Regions from separate parts of the Homo sapiens genome. Here region 1 is linked to region 2. Evidence: promoter capture Hi-C in 16 types of primary human blood cells and fetal thymus (Javierre and others, 2016). All regions are on one chromosome and are shown on one strand. Each heading gives the region's core, a stretch centred on a gene start or on the middle of the fragment in contact. The rest is flanking DNA. Distances are from core to core; before and after follow the strand shown.

The links. The method cuts DNA at HindIII sites, captures the fragments that hold promoters and counts their contacts. A CHiCAGO score of 5 or more calls a contact.
Region 1: a fragment that was not itself captured here is called in contact with the fragment with the promoter of SMG1 in region 2 in 2 of 17 cell types (activated CD4 T cells and non-activated CD4 T cells); the score reaches 5.5 in activated CD4 T cells.

Annotation. Positions count from the first base shown.
Region 1 is chr16:18,830,301-18,833,119 of GRCh38, reverse strand. SMG1 (SMG1 nonsense mediated mRNA decay associated PI3K related kinase) reads left to right here. Exons shown (of 63, transcript NM_015092.5): 51 at 1-180; 52 at 2,751-2,819. Among named protein-coding and RNA genes, the nearest start is that of ARL6IP1, 30 kb to the right of the region's middle. The HindIII fragment of the contact is 917 bases long and covers 866-1,782 here.
Region 2 is chr16:18,925,006-18,927,900 of GRCh38, reverse strand. It overlaps SMG1 (SMG1 nonsense mediated mRNA decay associated PI3K related kinase), which reads left to right and starts at 1,493. Exons shown (of 63, transcript NM_015092.5): 1 at 1,493-1,951. The coding sequence starts at 1,860. It overlaps SMG1-DT (SMG1 divergent transcript), which reads right to left and starts at 1,714. Exons shown (of 2, transcript XR_001752094.2): 1 at 1,627-1,714. RefSeq lists enhancers at 400-1,013, 1,014-1,626 and silencers at 1,312-1,651, 1,682-2,271. The HindIII fragment of the contact is 12,853 bases long and covers 1-2,895 here.

The DNA.
Region 1 (2,819 bases), core at 75-2,574, 95 kb after region 2:
ATGTTTAATGAAAGGGGAATACACGTTAGAAAGTATGCTGCATGAACTGGACGGTCTTATTGAGCAGACCACCGATGGCGTTCCCCTGCAGACTCTAGTGGAATCTCTTCAGGCCTACTTAAGAAACGCAGCTATGGGACTGGAAGAAGAAACACATGCTCATTACATCGATGTTGCCAGGCAAGTGAATGCTGGCTGTGCCGTTTCCTTGTAAAAGAGATGGGACAGCCAGAGAAAGGGATTCTGAGCTCTTTAACGTAAGTTTACTTTTAGTTTTTAGAGCAGGTATAATTACTTATAAATGCTCATACACGTATCTTTTTAAAACTTTTTTATTTTGAAATAATTATACATCACGAGAAGTTGCTTAAAAAAAAAGTGCAGGCAGGTATTGTGCATGCTTCATCCTTCCTTCAGTGTTAGTATCTATAGTAACACTATGAAACCGACAATGATATAGTCCACACCGCTTACTCAGATTTCACTAGTTATACATGCACTTATTTGTGTGTGTGTGTGTGTGTGTGTGTGTGTGTGCAAGTGTATAGTTCGGTCACATACATACATATATCCTTTTAGTGCTTGTAGTTATGTACATGTACATACACACAGTCGAACATGATATTTTTAAGCCATCTTGTAGAACCCCTTGGAGACACCTGAAACAGTTTATTTAGCTAACAGAGTACACACCTCATTTCAGGTGAATACTTTTAAATTAGTTTAAATATTGTAAGTTTGTTTTAGCTAATTGGATATTGTATTTTTCATCTCATTAGTCCAGAAAAGCAATCTGACTTTGGAATCTGTAGAGTTTGGGCAGTTCCTGCAGACATGCATTGTACTCAGAGCTAATCCCTAAGCTTCTTTGTGCCTAGTGACTCAGGGCCTCTTTTCTTTGGCGTTCCAATGTCTAATTCACAGAAGAAGTATAATTGAGAGAGTAGAAATGAATTGTAGCACCGTTTCCTCCCATGGGAAATTTCAAAGATACAAGACTGTAGAGAGAATAGTCTAATGAACCCCCTGCCACCACCTTTGGTAATTATCTGCACTGGGCTAGTCTGGTTTAAATTTACTACCCTAGTTATTTAGAAGCAAATATTTTTTCATTCTTAAATATTAATAATGCAGAAAGTATACATATATATGTAATCTTATTTTTCTTGACTGTGGTGCCATTATTTCATGAAAAAAGTAGCAATAATTCCTTAATGTTAATTATCCTGCATTCAGAAATTTCCTGTTTCTCATGTTTCTTTGGAGTGGTTATATTCATAAAATAATAAATATATTCATATATATTCATAAATATGTACGTGTGTGTGTATATATATATATATATGTATTTTTTTTTTTTTTTTTGAGATGGAGTCTTGCTGTGTCGCTAGGCTGGAGTGCAATGGTGCGATCTCGGCTCGCTGCAGCCTCCATCTCCCGGGTTCAAGAGATTCTCCTGGCTCAGCCTCCCTAGTAGCTGGGACTATGGACGTATGCCCCCATGCCCGGCTAGAAAAAGTATAATCATTAATAGCATAAATATTAGATTATTTATAGAACAGCTTTATCATATAATTTTTAGCAGTATTTAAAAAGTTAAATGCTAGATCTGTACATCTTTGTTTTGCACTGAATTTCAGACTTCATTTTATCTCTCTTAATATCTTATCTGGGTTCCCCTTATCCTCATACAGAGGAATGTTTACCTAAATGTGTACTTTGGGTAACAAACTTTGTGCCTGGATCTATGGCAGCCTGTCTGTGCCTTGTTTCAGAGAAGCTTTTTTTGGGTAATCTCAAGGAAAATCTCATACCATCTTACAGCTCTTTTTCCATTAGAAATTTATCTGGTAGTTTAACATTTTTAATTCTCTTAAAAATTCTTAATAGTTCCAGCCATTTGGAATGGTTTCTGTGTGTGTGTGTGATAAGAAATAGTGCCTGGATACATAAGCACTATGTAAGTCTTAATGGTAATGTGAGGGGTGAATTTCTGAAGACCTTACATTCAAAATGTGCATAAATAAAAACCAAGCATACCCAAAATAGCAAGTATACTTGGTTGTATCGTATCTTGTAGTAATAGTGCGAACATACCTGACAATTTACTAGGTCCGCCAGCTTTAGAATGGTGTGATTTCTGACATTTTTCAATACAGGATTTTAAATTATTTCATATTTTGTGTGTAAAAATGAGACTGATCACTGAAGTTTGCATAAAATTTAATCACATAACAGTCATTAATAACGAATTGGAATCATTGAAATCCTATTGTGGTTGACATGAAATACCATTTTATCATCATAACATTCCTTCTTTTTTTTTGAGATGGAGTTTCGCTCTTGTTGCCCAGACTGGAGTGTAATGGCGCGATCTTGGCCTCCTAGGCAACCTCCGCCTCCTAGGTTCAAGCGATTCTCCTAGCCTCAGCCTCCTGAGTAGCTGGGACTACAGGTGCCCACCATCACACTCGGCTGATTTTTTTGTATTTTTAGTAGAGACGGGGTTTCTCCATGTTGGTCAGGCTGGTCTTGAACTCCTGACCTCAGGTGATCTGCCCACCTCGGCCTGCCAAAGTGCTGGATTACAGGCGTGAGCCACCGCGCCCGGCCTAATAACACTTCTTCTTAATGCCAGAAGGCTTTCTAGACTCTCACAGCATGCAGCTGTGAGATGTACTGACTTTGTATGTTCCCACCAAAGGCATTACTTTTCAGCGAAGGTTTTAACTCCTTTTGTTTTTCTGTAGACTACTACATGCTCAGTACGGTGAATTAATCCAACCGAGAAATGGTTCAGTTGATGAAACACCCAAAAT
Region 2 (2,895 bases), core at 244-2,743:
GAGCATCCTGGCCCAACTTTTAAAAAACGTGTGTGCATTCACGTTATGCATCAGATGCTTTAGGGAACTTTTTTCCCTGGGGCATGGGACACGTCATGGGGTAGACGGTCGGGTACGTCTCCTCTACCCAGCTGCTGCTTTGTTTTTTTTTTCTTTTTGAGACAGAGTCTTGCTCTGTCGCCCACGCTGGAGTGCAGTGGAGCCATCTCTGCTCACTGTGAGCTCCGCTTCCCGGGTTCACGCCATTCTCCTGCCTCAGCCTCAGGAGTAGCTGGGACTACAGGCACCCGCCACCACGCCCGGCTAATTTTTTGTATTTTTAGTAGAGACGGGGTTTCACCGTGTTAGCCAGGATGGTCTCGATCTCCTGACCTCGTGATCCGCCCGCCTCGGCCTCCCAAAGTGCTGGGATTACAGACGTGATCCACCACGCCCGGCCTTCTCTCTTTCTTTTCTTTTTTCCTTTCCTTTCCTTTCCTTTCCTTCCTTCCTCCCTTCCTTCCTTCCTTTTTCTTCCCTCCCTCCTTTCTCTCTCTCTTTTATTTTTTTGAGACAGAGTTTCACTCTTGTTGTCCAGGCTGGACTGCAATGGTCTGATCTCGGCTCACTGCAACCTCGGCCTGCTGGGTTCAAGCGATTCCCCTGCCTCAGCCTCCCAAGTAGCTGGGATTACAGGCGCCCTCCACCATGCCCGGCTAATTTTTGTATTTTTAGTAGAGGCGGGGTTTCTCCATGTTGGCTAGGCTGGTCGGGAACTCCTCACCTCAGACGATCCGCCCACCTCGGCCTCCGAAAGTGCTGGGATTACAGGCGTGATCCACCGCGCCTAGCCCCCAGCTTCTTTCACCAGCAGAAGGCGGGCAAGCCTCAGGGTGAAAGGACTTCAAAGCACATTTCACATTGCAGAGGACAGGGTTTGGTGATCGTGGGTACTCCCTTCCCTTCCATCGTTTAGTTTTTTTCATTGTGAAGAAATGGTAAAAGGTGCCAGGACTCGATGGGCACATTTCAGGTGGAGGTTGGGAAGGTGGATATCCACCTCTCGATCTTACTATTTTCACTTTCCACCCCACCCCGTAGAAAGTGGGAAAACTGGCGCACGTGAATCCAAGGGCACGCCTGTGTGCGCGCGCACCGCAGGGCACCAGCCCCCACCCACACCGCAGGTCCTTGATTGGACGCCTGTTTACACCTGACTGCCCGGCCCTCCGGTGCTTTCCGGGAAGCGTTTGGGAGAAAAGTGTGTGGCCGCAGTAGTGGAGATCCCCTGTCTTAGGATTCGTCACCGCTACGCCCAGACCTCTTCGCCGCCCAAGGGCCTGGGGACGTGGGGGGCGGGGCGGCCTGCTATCGACCCCGCCTCTCTCGGCTCCGCCCCGCCGACAGGACCCGCCTCTCTCCCCAGGCCCGGCGGGCGCCAACCCCGCCCCTCGCTCCCAGCATGCCGTGCGACAGCGGCGGCGCGGCGGGCGGAGCCGGGAGGCGGGGAAGCAGTGGCCGTGTGAGCGTGAGGAGCTGCCGCCACCGCCTGCTCCTCGTCGTCCTCGTCCTCCGGGGCCCCGGCGACGTGGGCCGCGCACGGCCCTGGAAAAGACGTCGCCTCCCCTTCATCCGCCTCTCTCTCACCGCGCCGCTCCCGCCTCCTCGTCCTGCGCTGCGGGCTCAGGCGGAACCCGGAACGGCCGTCCTCTTCCCCCGCCCTCCGCCGCCTCCTCCTTCTCCTCCTCCTCCTCCTCCTCCTCCTTCTCGGCTTCCTCCTCAGCCCCGGGCCGGAGCGGGGTGTCGGCGGCGGCCGGTTCGGGCGGCGACTCGCGCTTCTTTGGGCGGCGGCGCTTGGCCATGTCGTGTCGGGGAAGGTAATGAGCCGCAGAGCCCCGGGGTCTCGGCTGAGCAGCGGCGGCGGCGGCGGCGGCACCAAGTATCCGCGGAGCTGGAATGACTGGCAACCCAGGTGGGTGACCGGCCCGGGACCCCGCCCCGACCTCCCGGGCTCCGCCTCGGGCGGGCCGAGGCCTAGGGCCGCGGGGCTGGGAGGCGCGGCCTAGGCCCTCCACCCCTCGGAGCCGGGCGCGGCTTCCTGGGTCTCCTCCGCCCCGGCTGGGGGAGGAAGGCCGCGGGGAGGCGAGGCCTAAGTGCCTCCCCTCCCTGCTTGTTCAGCCCGGGGCTGGAGCCGAGACCCGGGGCTCCCGGCGGTGGCACTGGCCTGGGGTCGGGACCAGGAGGTGAGAAAGAGGCGGGGGTGGGGGTGGGGGGCATTCCAGTTACAGCCTCCCCCTGACCCCGAGTTGGGAGATGCTGAGAGTCCAGGACCCTCCCTGTTACTCATTCACTTTCTCGGTTCCCCACTCTTTCAGCCGCCACGTGAGAGCTCTTCTAACCTCTGTTCCTTTCTGTGACCCCCACGTGTTAATATTGAAAAAAACAAAACAAAACTCCAGCTAAGGCATTGCTCTGACTCTAGGCAGAACATTCATTAGTGGAGCATGAGATGAGATTGTGTGACTGTTGATGGGATCGACCCACGCTGGTCTTGGGCGATGGAAGTTTTCCCTAAGTGCAAGGCCGGTTACTCTGGTGAATCGTAATTCATACCTGGACACTTGAGTGAACTCTTTGGGCACCCACTTAGAAGTCTAGAGAATTTCCTCATTTATGGAGGATTTGATCTCAGACCGTTTTGGGGCTTAGTGAGATTTGAATATATTAGGAACATTAACTTTTTAAATAAATGTAGTTTCCTGTCTTTTTGATCAATGGGAGGGCAGCTGTGCCTAATTTAGGACTGATTTATTCTAATCTCTCTTAATAAATGCTTGTATTCAGAGTCTGTTTGGAATTTAACCCAATGCTTAGAACTCCTTAAATATACAGAAATATATTTTAGGGGTAATTGAT